Regions from separate parts of the Homo sapiens genome. Here regions 2, 3 and 4 are each linked to region 1. Evidence: promoter capture Hi-C in 16 types of primary human blood cells and fetal thymus (Javierre and others, 2016). All regions are on one chromosome and are shown on one strand. Each heading gives the region's core, a stretch centred on a gene start or on the middle of the fragment in contact. The rest is flanking DNA. Distances are from core to core; before and after follow the strand shown.

The links. The method cuts DNA at HindIII sites, captures the fragments that hold promoters and counts their contacts. A CHiCAGO score of 5 or more calls a contact.
Region 2: a fragment that was not itself captured here is called in contact with the fragment with the promoter of FAM209B in region 1 in 1 of 17 cell types (M0 macrophages); the score reaches 5.4 in M0 macrophages.
Region 3: a contact is called between a fragment that was not itself captured here and the fragment with the promoter of FAM209B in region 1, in 2 of 17 cell types (fetal thymus and M1 macrophages). The highest score is 5.8, in fetal thymus.
Region 4: a contact is called between a fragment that was not itself captured here and the fragment with the promoter of FAM209B in region 1, in 1 of 17 cell types (erythroblasts). The highest score is 5.2, in erythroblasts.

The regions. Positions count from the first base shown.
Region 1 is chr20:56,531,853-56,534,870 of GRCh38, forward strand. FAM209B (family with sequence similarity 209 member B) reads left to right here and starts at 1,394. Exons shown (of 2, transcript NM_001013646.4): 1 at 1,394-1,738. The coding sequence starts at 1,490. It also overlaps a transcript of FAM209A not described here. The HindIII fragment of the contact is 5,101 bases long and covers 1-3,018 here.
Region 2 is chr20:57,022,655-57,025,672 of GRCh38, forward strand. No RefSeq gene overlaps it. Among named protein-coding and RNA genes, the nearest start is that of BMP7-AS1, 190 kb to the right of the region's middle. The HindIII fragment of the contact is 2,231 bases long and covers 430-2,660 here.
Region 3 is chr20:56,993,486-56,996,503 of GRCh38, forward strand. No RefSeq gene overlaps it. Among named protein-coding and RNA genes, the nearest start is that of BMP7-AS1, 220 kb to the right of the region's middle. RefSeq lists an enhancer at 1,961-2,489. The HindIII fragment of the contact is 3,092 bases long and covers 8-3,018 here.
Region 4 is chr20:56,960,898-56,963,915 of GRCh38, forward strand. No RefSeq gene overlaps it. Among named protein-coding and RNA genes, the nearest start is that of BMP7-AS1, 250 kb to the right of the region's middle. The HindIII fragment of the contact is 2,659 bases long and covers 295-2,953 here.

The DNA.
Region 1 (3,018 bases), core at 144-2,643:
TCCTGACCTCAGGTGATCTGCCCACCCTGGCCTCCCAAAGTGCTGGGATTACAGGTGTGAGCCCCTGCCCCTGTGCCTGGCCCAATGTATACTCTTTTTTTCTTTTCTTTTCTTTTCTTTTCTTTTTTTTTTTTTTTTTTGAGACTGAGCCCTGCTCTGTTGCCCAGACTGGAGTGCAGTGGCGCCATCTAAGCTCACTGTAACCTCTACTTCCTGGGTTCAAGTGATTCTCCCGTCTCAGCCTCCCAAGTAGCTGGGATTACAGGCACATGCCACCATGCCTGGCTAATTTGTGTATTTTTAGTAGAGATAGGGTTTCACCATGTTGGCCAGGCTGGTCTCAAACTTCTGACCTTGGGTGATCTGCCTACCTTGGCCTCCCAAAGTGCTGGGATTACAAGTGTGAGCCACCAGGCCTGGCTCCAAAGTATACTCTTAACCCAAGGCAGGCACACACTGCTGCTGTCAATGATGGTATGTGGTAATAGGGAGTGGTGGGGACTGTGGAGGGAATATGGCCACAGGATGGATGATTTCACTTGGCTCTAGCAGAAGACTGGTTCTATGACAGTGTGGGCCCAGTGCTTCCAGAACTCTTCATATTTTCTTTTCTTTCTTTTTCTTTTTCTTTTTTTTTTTTTTTTTTTTTTGAGACAGAGTCTTGCTCTGTTGCCAGGCTGGAGTGCAGTGGCGTGATCTCGGCTCATCACAACCTCTGCCTCCTGGGTTCAAGTGATTCTCCTGTCTCAGCCTCCCAAGTAGCTGAGACTACAGGCGTGTGCCACCACATCCAGCTAATTTTTGTATTTTTAGTAAAGACGGGGTTTCACCACGTTGGACAGGATGGTCTCGATCTCTTGACCTCGTAATCTGCCCGCCTCAGCCTCCCAAAGTGCTGGGATTACAGGCGTGAGCTGCCGCGCCCGGCCACGCTCTCATATTTTCAAAGGAAGCCGGAAACCTGGACTTTTAAAGTGAAATACCCACCCCCCACAACATTTAAGTACTGACTAATAATTTTTAGAAACAACATAGGCCAAACAAAACACATAGGTGGCTCCGAGTTTGTAGGTAGCCTGTGGTTTAATATCTTTCTCTCCCATTTAACTCAGCTCCACGGGGCACATGGCATCTCCCTCTGCTCATCATAGTGTTTGGATCAAACAAATGAAAAACAGAAACATGACGGCCTCTACCAGCAAAAGCTCGAGGGTTGGAAAGAGTCCCCTGGCAGGGAATTGGCACCCCGTCGTGCCTATCCTCTCTCTCTGACTGCCTGCTGGAAATGCCCCCATCTCCCTTTGAGTCCTCCTCCCGGGCGACTCCTGTGACCTGTAACCTCTGTCCTGAAATCATCACAATGGCCAGGGTGGCCTCAGCTCAGGGCCTCTGTGACATCACCAAGGGCCTGGCACCAGGTGCCCAGTCTTCCAGTTGCGAGGGCAAGCAAACCCGTCATGAGCAACTCCCTTCCCCATCTCTGCTCACCATGTGGACGCTGAAATCGTCCCTGGTCCTGCTTCTGTGCCTCACCTGCAGCTATGCCTTTATGTTCTCTTCTCTGAGACAGAAAACTAGCGAACCCCAGGGGAAGGTGCCGTGTGGAGAGCACTTTCGGATTCGGCAGAACCTACCAGAGCACACCCAAGGCTGGCTTGGGAGCAAATGGCTCTGGCTTTTGTTTGCTGTTGTGCCGTTTGTGATACTGCAGTGTCAAAGAGACAGTGAGAAGAATAAGGTAAGGATGGCTCCATTTTTTTTACACCATATTGATTCAATCTCAGGAGTCTCAGGGAAACGGATGTTCTAGTGAGTCTAGGCGGCACCGTTGGGTATAATGAACCGACCTCATGGTCCTGGGCAAAGCTGGCAAATTCACTTCCTGATGTATCCTTAGTGAAGACAATAGTCCCCACATCCACAGATATTGGGACAAACAGTGGAAGATGACCTCTAGTTTCTTGGCTCAAAGTTCTTCTGGTTAGATGGATTTTTTCAAATGTAGGATAGATTCAAGAACTCAGCCGGGCGCAGTGGTTCATGCTGTAATCCCATCACTTTGGGAGGCCAGGGCAGGTGGATTGCCTGAGGTCGGGAGTTTGAGAACAGCCTGGCCAACACGGTGAAACCCCATCTCTACTAAAAATACAAAAATTAGCTGGGCATGGCGGCGTGTGTCTGTAATCCCAGCTACTCGGGAGGCTGAGGCAGAAGAATGGCTTGAACCCTGGAGGCAGAGGTTGTGGTGAGCTGAGATCACACTACTGCACTCCTGCATGGGCGACTGAGACTCTGTCTCAAAATAAAGAACTTATGGTGTGTTTTAGAAGGTCAAAATTATATTATTCACAGGGCCAAATTCACTGTTCCCTTGCTTTTTACATTTTTCCTAGTGCTTGACTTACTGAAAATTCCTGAGCTAAATGGAAATGATATCATCCCAACAAAATATGAAACTTCTGTAAGGAGATAAAGGTGTAGGCCGGGCACAGTGGCTCATGCCTGTAATCCCAGAACTTTGGGAGGCCGAGACGGGCAGATCACTTGAGGTCAGGAGATTGAGACCAGCCTGGCCAACATGGTGAAACCTCGTCTTTACTAAAAATACAGAAATTAGGCCAGGCGCGGTGGCTCACCCCTGTAATCCTAGCACTTTGGGAGGCTGAGGCGGGTGAATCACGAGGTCAGGAGTTCGAGACCAGCTGGGCAACATGGTGAAACCCTGTCTCTACTAAAAATACAAAACCTAGCTGGGCGTAGTGGCGGGCGCCTGTAATCCCAGCTACTCGGGAGGCTGAGGCAGGAGAATCACTTGAACCCTGGAGGCAGAGGTGGTAGTGAGCCGAGATGGAGCCACTGCACTCCAGCCCAGGTGACAGAGTGAGACTCTGTCTCAAAAAAAAAAAAAAAAAAAAAAAAAGCTGGGCCCAGTGGCTCATGCCTGTAATCCCAGCACTTTGGGAGGCCGAGGCGGACGGATCATCTGAGGTCAGGAAGTTGAGACCAGCCTGACCAACA
Region 2 (3,018 bases), core at 295-2,794, 490 kb after region 1:
ACAAGGCCTCTGTGTTTGCTGCTGTTTACAGTTGATGGCTGAAAATTTAGGCAAAAACAGAGGGTCGCTCTGCTGCAACATGGGTGACTTCAAAAGAAAGAGTGTTCTGCCAAAAATTTATTTGCCATTTCTACCAGTTGGAGCCCCAGCTTCGTCCCCTGTCTCCCTCTCCTGGCTCTTCCCCGCCAGCTTTGTTTCTAAAACAGTTAAATCTAGCTAAGCCTAATCAATTCAAGTGTCTTGTCTTTCTGACACTTTCTTTGGGTACTGGCCTCTTCATCCTTGAATATTTATTGGGGTATTTTCCTAATTCCCAATTATCTACCCTAGAAAAATTCTGACACACCTGCTGGGTTGAGAGAATTTTTCATTCTTCCACATCAGGGGTTGGGGAACTGTTCTGTAATGGGTCATGCAGCAGGCATTTTAAGCTTGTGGTCCATAGAGTCTCACTCCAGCCGGTCAACACGTGCTGCCTTTGTAGGATGAATGCAACTATAAACAATATGGAAATGAATGGATGAGTCTATGTTCCAATAAAACTTTATTTATAAAAACAGGCTGCTGGCCCAGGGGCTAGAGTTTGCAGATCCTTGTTGTACATAATCAGCTACTTAGCTGAGGGGCATGGAAACCACTGAATCACCAGACAGGCCTCTCCTGGACTCCCATGGGGTGCCTCCTACTAGGTGCTGTGGGAGGGTAGAGAACATTTCTTAGAAGTCTGTTCACAATGACCCTGGCTTTGAAGCTGGGATAAGGTAAAGCCAGTGCCCACTTGTGTAGTGGGCTGAACAGTTTCCCTGCAAAATGCATGTCCATCTGCAACCTCAGAATATGGCCTGATTTGGAAATAGGATCGCTGCAGATGTAGATAAGGTAAAGATCAACATGAGATTATACTGGATTTGGGTGGTCTCTAAATCCAATGAGGGTGATCTTCTATAAGACCAAAAAGGACACACAGTGAGACAGAGAAAAGAAGGCCATGTGAAGGCTGAGGCACAGATGGGTATGAGGCGGCCACAAGCCAAGGAATGCCAGGAGCTACTGGGAGCTGGAGGAGGCCAGGAACAGATTCTCCCCTGGAGCCTTCAGAGGGACCGCAGCCCTGCCGACACCTTGCTTTTGGACTTCTGGCCCCAGAAAACGCGGAGAGAGAATCCATTTCTGTTGTCTTAACCCACCCAGTTTGTGGTCATTTGTTACAGAAACCCTGGGAAACCAATATGGCACGTGGGTATTGAAAATTGCCCAGTGTAATTCAGTTGAGTTCCCTTGAAAAGGAGAAGCAAAGATCTCCTCATGTGGATGTGTCAGTTCAGTGTGTTTTGGCCTCATAGGAACCATGAATCCGAGATAACGCTGTAGGGGTTTCAACTCCCTGGCGGTGGAACTCTGTTGATTTCTACTCTTGTTAAACGACTCTTTCGCAGTAATATGAAGCAATTTGGCCAATAGTCAGCCAACTTGCCCCCGTCTTAAGGGTAAGTAAGCCAGTGAGAAGGGGGCCCCTGGCTCTGACGTCACAGCCCAATGGGAGGGGGCCAATCAGAAGCAGGATCTCTGGCTGGACCATGAGAGGAGGGAAAGTGTGGGTCTTATGATGCTTCCGCAGATGGTGTTGATGCCCAGAGCCCCGGCTTGCTCCAATCAGTTACTGGAGGAGAAAACTCCAAGTTGTTGACATGGAGACTTCAGACAGCCAAATCATGATCTAAAAGTGCAGGTACTGATGTGGATGGAAAATTCAGGGCCTTGGAGTCTGGGTTAAAATTATCCTTCCTTCAACTCAGTGCTACCTCAACCACAGGGAACGGAGGAGATGCATTTTCCCAAAGGAAGGATGCTGGACGGACAGCATGCATCCATTACAAGGTGGAAACCATCGACACAGAAAGGGAAGGGCTAGGAGTAGATCATGCTTTTTATAGCCCCCTGACCCCATGACAAACCCCTTCACACATTCCAACACACAAGCCTTTATTCACCCTGATTACCTCTAGCTTTGGACAGAGGGCAGGCCTTCACTGTGGCTGCACACAGGACCCAGTGTTTGTAACTGGGCTGCGAAATTCTTCACGTGGTATAAATCACCAGGGTTTAGTGGGTGCAAGCAACAGAAACTGACCAGCTGATGTAAGGAAAAGGGAATTTATTGGCAGGACACAGGGAACTCACAGGACTCTGTGAGCTCTTTAATGATGGCATCTGCCATCTCTTTTGCGAGTCAAGAGGAGACCTTGCTGTTCTCCTGGTGAGTGGTCCCATCATCAGTGAGCTCTCTGGAACTTAATTTTCCCCTTACATGTAGTGTGTGGTTGTGGCCTCAGAGTTATGCATTGTGGGTTCACACTGCAAGGACGATAGTACTTGTTGCTTTTAGAGAGCCTCCCATCTGTTGCCCTCGGGTCATTGCCAATGTTGATAAAATCTCCCCAGAAAAGCCCAGGAAATGCTATTATTATACCACAGGCCTGGACCAAGGCAGAAGCAGGGCCTCCAAGCTGGCCTGGGTGATCTCTGCATGGTTCTGGGCTACCTTATGTTGAGATAGTTGAGTCCGTGTCTTCAACTACCAGGATCCTGGCAGAGCGTGGGCAATTATGACTTTTTGCCCAATTATATAATCTCCCTGGGGTGGGGAGTATGACCCCAAAAGCTTCCAAGACACCCTCAATGAAACCTTGGAGGGAATCTGTAACATTTGTTCCAACTTACCAGTGCTTTCCCGGGGCTCCTCAAGGACCTCATGGTCTGACTACTTTTTCCATGTAACTTTCAAAACACCTTTGCTAAAACAAACAGATGAAACTTGGCAGCATGCCTCGGTCACAGGGCTGAGCTGGTACAATTTTCTTTTTTTTTCAGTCTTCGAAAAACAGTTTTCTTCATCTTTCTAAATTTCAAAATCTTGAGTGACTTAGCCATTTGAGCAGGACACAGAATGGTGATGATTTTTATTTTATAGATGAAGAAAAATTAAACATTCAAAGGGGCTGTAACCTTCCCCTTCAT
Region 3 (3,018 bases), core at 304-2,803, 460 kb after region 1:
TTTTATAAGCTTCTAGATCCTGCCCACCCTTTGCCCTAGAGGGAGGCATTACTGGTAAGCAAACAAACTTTCCCTCTGTTATCTCTATTTTCCAAGACTATTTGCTTACAAACATCCTTGGAAAGGTAGTCTGGAATGCCCATGCTGTCAGTGTCTCTGCTCACAAGATATACTGACATTCTGGAAACCCATGGAACACTGTCTCCCAGCAGCTACCACTTTAGAAGTTTGTCAGGGAGGAGATCGCAGGACTCCTCCTCTGCCATGTGCTGGTGGTGAGCCGTTTCCAGTTCACTGTGCACCAGGCACTGCACGTGGCTTGTCTCACTCCTCTTCATAACCCCATGAGACAGACCATTGTCAGGCCTATTGACAGGTTAGGAAATTGAGACTCAGAGAAGCTAACTTGCCCTAGGCCACCTCTCTTGTCAGTAGCAGAGCCAGGACTTGAACTGAGGACTGCTGACTCCAGAGCCCCATCCCATGTTCTGCTCTCAACACATAACACTCATGGAACAAAACGAGTTATTTAGAAAATACCAGTCAATGCGGTTCTTGGAACCTCACCCTGGTCTGTGACCCCAGAACCAACATGTGCCCCTGCCCCTCTCTGACCTCCCTGGCAGCCAGCCTTCCTAAAGTGACAGGCGGTCTTCTGCCCTCTCCACCTCCTGTGGAGCCAGAAGCCTGGTGCCCTCTCTCTTGGTCTGTGTCCAAGTAAGGAAGAGCAGCCACGTCACGGATGCTGGGCAAACATCAGCAGCAAGGGCTGCCCAGACTCGGGGAGGAAGACCCGCTTCTAAGCTGCTCTAGTGTAGTGTGAATACTCCATAAACTTCCCAGCTGTCTTCCACCCACCCAGGGTTCCCTCGCCAACAGGATCCCTCCACCCAGGGCCCTGAGGGAGGCTCTTGGGAAGTCTTTGAAAGCTGGAAGGAGCTTTTCCTGAAAGAAGAGGTTTGGCTAGTCTGGTCTCTTGTCTTTTAAACTGCCCTGCAAGGACAGAAAAAGTCCTTGGACTTCTCATTGCAAAATCTCAATCCACCGCCTCCTAGGTTGGCAGGAGTTGCTGCTGGGGAGAGGGAGTGAGGCATGCTGGGAAGAATGTGGAAGGTGAAGTCCAACAGGCCTGAGTTCAAATCCCAGCTTTACCTTTTTCCAGCTGTGTGACCTTGGGCCTCAGTTTCCCCATCTGCAAAGTGAGGATAATGCTTGCACCTACCTCACAGAGTCACTGGGAAGGTTTAATCAGATTATGCATAAGGAGGCATTCATTCTATCTTTAAAAAATATTTACGAAACACTTAATATGTGCAGGAACAGTTCTAGGTGCTAGGACTACAACCGTGAGAAAAACGCCTTGCAAAGCTCACATTCTAGAGGAGGAGACAGATAATACCAGCACCTGCGATGCAGTAAATGCTCAGTGATTCTTAGCCACAGGCAGAAACAGGTTGCTTGGGGGACCCCTCTTCTGGTTAGTGGGGAGGTCTCAGAGAAAGGAGGTGATCAGCTAGCTGGAGACCCCAGAAAGCATCTCCGACAAGAGGAAGCATCTAAGGTCAAAGAACAGCTGGGTGGCTGATTGGTGACATTGACAGCATTCTACTTTCTGAAGCTATAGGAAGATAAATCAACTCTATGGGAGCTGGCTCTGGCCTCCTCCAGGGGGTTGGAGGTAGTCACAGTAGAGGGGCTCCTCTAAATTCTCAGAAAGCCATTCTGGGTAACTCAGCACCCATGGCTGTGGCCTCCTGGGAGAGGCAGAGATAGAGTCAAGACGTCTGCTCCCCGGCCTGCCCTTTCACTCCCATCTCCTCCACCCTTCACAGGCGCCGCTCTCAGTCTGGGCCCCTCTGCAACACCTGGAGATGGGCCAGCTGTGGAGCAAGCATCTGCTCCTTAATCCGCCCCCAGGGTTTGGCCTGCTGGAGGTGCGGCAGCACCCAAGGGTGAGTGGTTCCGGAAAGGAAGAGACAGCCCTTTGGACACGTTCACGAGTTTGTTCATTTATTCAGTGATTAGACATTGTTTGGAGCATCTATTGCAAACCAGGCACTGGGGGTGTGGGGCTGTGGGGTCGCCACTAGCTCGGCAGAGGGGGGAAAATGGTACATTTTAGAATCACAAAAAAATAGCTTCAAATAGTACATAATACCATCTCCTCAGGTCCTGAGACCCTCACCTTGAGCCCACGTGTTCCCTGCCGCTGGGGTTCAGCAAATGGCAGCGCTTTCATCAAGGTAGAAAAGAAAAACAACAAAAAAGTCAGAGCACCTCACCTGTGCCACCTGGTGGCGGGATCTGTCCGCACTGCAGCCCAGCAGCTTGCCTCCCGCCACCCACCGCCCCAGGAGGCTAACCCTGCCTGGTGGCTCTGGGACTGGGTGTGAGGAAGGCTCCTGAGGCCTGTCTGGCCTCCAGGATCTGGGTGAAGCCAGAGAAGCAGGCTCCGAATCACCCCAGCCTTTGCAAAGCCTTAGGAGTCAAGTTGCTGCATATGGGAAGCCTGGGGCTCCGGTAACAGCTCAGCAAGGCTGCGACAGCCCCGGGCCAGGACTCAGGGCGAAACAACCCTGTTGCTGGCTCCCTGGCTTGGGACAATTTCTAGTTTCCCGAGTCTCAGCTTGGTCTCCGATGGGGAAAGTGTCCCTTCCTCTCAAAGGTCCATTAGCCCAGGGTGCCTTGATTCAGTGAGGAGGGGTCTGGACTAGATTAGGGACACAGAATAAGGAAAATTCCCATATCCCCATTACCAAGAACTCCTACTGCAGGAGAGTACAGCGTGGTGTGACAATCAGGGACTCGGGACCAAGAGGCCTGTAACCGACTGCTATCCGGCCTCTACCTGTGTGGCTTGGGCAAATTGCTTCACCTCCCAGGGCGTCTTTATTTATGAAAGAGAATAAATGTATCCTGATTATAGTGTTGTTGCAAGGAGTAAGCAGGAGGATGTAGCCAAAGCACTTAACACAGTGTTTGGCAAGAACTGTTCAATAAATAAATAATTACTATTGT
Region 4 (3,018 bases), core at 374-2,873, 430 kb after region 1:
CACTGCACTCCAGCCTGGGCAACAGAGACTGACTCAAAAAGCAAAACAAAACAAAAACAACAACAACAAGAACAAATAGGCAAGTAAAAATGCCTCTCTGGAATTTCAAGATAATGTTGTCGATTTGATCACAATGGGAACCTCCAATCTTTGCAATGGTTATTCAAATGGATAACACTCTGAACATCTATTTTTTTAAAAAAAACTAAATGAGATGAAATTATAGAAATAGCTAAATCATGCATATGGGTGCAACATTTCAAAGGCAAAGAAAAAGTTATAATGAGGGAAGTAAGCTTCCCTCCCTGCTCCTGTACACCCAGAGGCAACCACTGTTACTATTGGGGTAACCCACATGACATTTCAATATTTACTTGTTTTCCACCAACAAAAATGGCAGTTTCACTGGATGCAGTGGCTCACACCTATCATCCCAGGATGGCTTGAGCCCAGGAGTTTGAGACCAGCCTGGGCAACATAGGGAGACCTCATCTCCACAAAAGCACAAAAATTAGCCAGATATGGTGGTACACCATTAGTCTCAGCTACTCAGGAGGCTGAGATGGGAGGATCACTTGAGCCTGGGCAGTCAAGGCTGCAGTGAGCCATAATTGTACCACTTCACTCCAGTCTAGGTGACAGAGTAGGAACCTGTCCAAAAAAAAAAATGACAGTTTCATATGATTCAGTCTGTTACTCCCAGTTTCTCATTTTCTCAGATACTCTGTGTGTATAAATACACACTTAGACAGAATCTTTCTGTTTTCTTTTTTATATAAATTACAGCAAATTATACACACTGTTTTTCATCTTGCTTATTTCACTTAACAATGTATCTTGAAGGTAGCTCCATTTTAGTATTTAAAGAAGAGCTTCATTCTCTTTTTAACAGCCACGGAATATTCTGTTGAATGGATGTGTCACGATCTATTTAGCCAGCCCCCAGTGATGGACAATTAGATTGTTTTCAGTCTCTTTCTACCAAAAACAATGCTGCAATGCCTATCTTTGTACACACATTATGTCTCACAAGTGGGAGTATGTTTGCGGGATAATAAGTTATTCAAGGTGGAATTGCTGGGCCAAAGGATGTGTGTCTTTTTCATTAGGAAATCTATTGCCTAATTGTCCTCCATAGACGTTGCGTCAATTCATACCCTGAGTAGACTGACAGGTCCAGCTTGACACTGTGCCTGATTTTAAGGTCCACAGAGCAATGAATGTTCTCCACGGCTCTGAGATGAGTGGCACTACCGGGGCAGTCTGGGAAATGTGGAGTGTCTAGATAACGTGCCAAGTTTGGCTCTGTCTCCTCCAAAAGGCAGATAAGGATAGGGAAGTCTCCTCTGCAAAGCAGTCTCTTAGCCTGGAAGGTTGTGGCTGGGAAAAGGAAAGGAGGGGTGTCTCCATGTATTGGAGATGAAAGAGGGAAGTTAGGCCCTAAGACCCTCTGGACTCTCTTCTGCTCCCAACCTAGGAAGGGCTGTCACCCCAGAGGCTGTTCAACCTCAGGTGCCCACTTCACAAGCATTAGGTAAAAGACACTGTTGACACAGTATGTGGCTAATGTGTGTGCCACAGATTGATCATCATCAGGTGGCACGAGTTTCTGGTCTACCAGCGTGCTCTGGCAAACCAGTTGACCATCATTAGGCTAGGGATGGACAAGCCAGTGGCTGGTCTTGGGAAGCAGTTTAGCATGTTTCAATATGTTCTTAATTTCTTTAACATTCTCCCTTCAGAAGGTGAAAATGGATTCCCTCCCCTTCAATGTGGGACAGGCTGGATGGTGAAATAATCATCTGTGACTTGCAAGACTGACTCATGCAAGGCAATACAGCTTCTGCTGGCTCTCTCCTTCTTGGATTGCCCATTGTGGGAAAAGCCAGCTGCCATGTTGTAAGGACACTTAAGCAGCCTGTAGAGGGGCCCACATGGGGAGGAAGTGAAGCTCCTCACCAACCAGCAGCACCAAATTGTCAGTCACCTTGGACATCACCTTGGAAGTGGATCCTCCAGCCCCAGTCAAGCCTTCAGATGACTGTGGCTTTGGTCAACTTCGTGACTACAACCTCATGAGAGACCCTGAGTCAGAACTGGTCAGCAAAAGGGCTCCTGTATTTCTAACTCATAGAAACTGGAAGAATATACATGTTTATTGCTGTTTTAGGACACTAAGTTCTGGATAATTTATTGCCCAGTAATAAGTAACCATACATATGGCCAGGTTGATCAACTTGTGATGAGCCTGTTCTATCTGCTTCTTTGCCTCTACTTCATGTCTCCCAGCCTTGCGAGGAGGGAGAGATCCTCTTCAAATGACATGGAAGAGCAGATTCTACATCTTCTATGAGGTCAACATGAAGGAAATGTAGCCCATTACGAGAGGTCAAGAAGGATCCTGAATGTTCCTCTTCACCTTCACTGCTACCCTGTCACTGCAGGGTGTGGGAGCATTTCATAAGCTCCCTTACCCTCAGCTGTGTCATCTGAAAAATGGGGTGATAACCAAAGATGTAGTGTGGGCCCAGATAAGCTCTTCAAGTCCCTTAAAGCATTGAGCACCAGCTTTTATACATTTTAATTCATTCACGCATCAATCATCCATTTATCCACTCAGCAAATTTATGCTAAATGCCTACAATGTTTTAGGTACCATGAGAGGTGCTAGGGATATGAAAGAGAGCAAATCAATATCCCTGTTATCAAGGGGATCCCAGTCCAATGGGAGAGAAGATGGAGAGATGGACCAGTAACACATGATGTAATACAACTGTGCCAGGGCTGAATGATTACAGTAAGGAGAGCGGCCCCCTCCCAGGGTGGAGGAGCAGAGACATACAGACTGTGACTCCTGAGTGGGCCCTAAGACCCCTGCCCTGCAGAACCACAAAACCAGGCATAGTGTTCCAGGTTCTTGATCCAGTGTAAGTGGCAAAAATGGAATCAGAGAAGCTTGGGATATGAGGCTAGACATCCTGATGACCTAGCTGGACATATGCACTAAGTAAGGTCCAG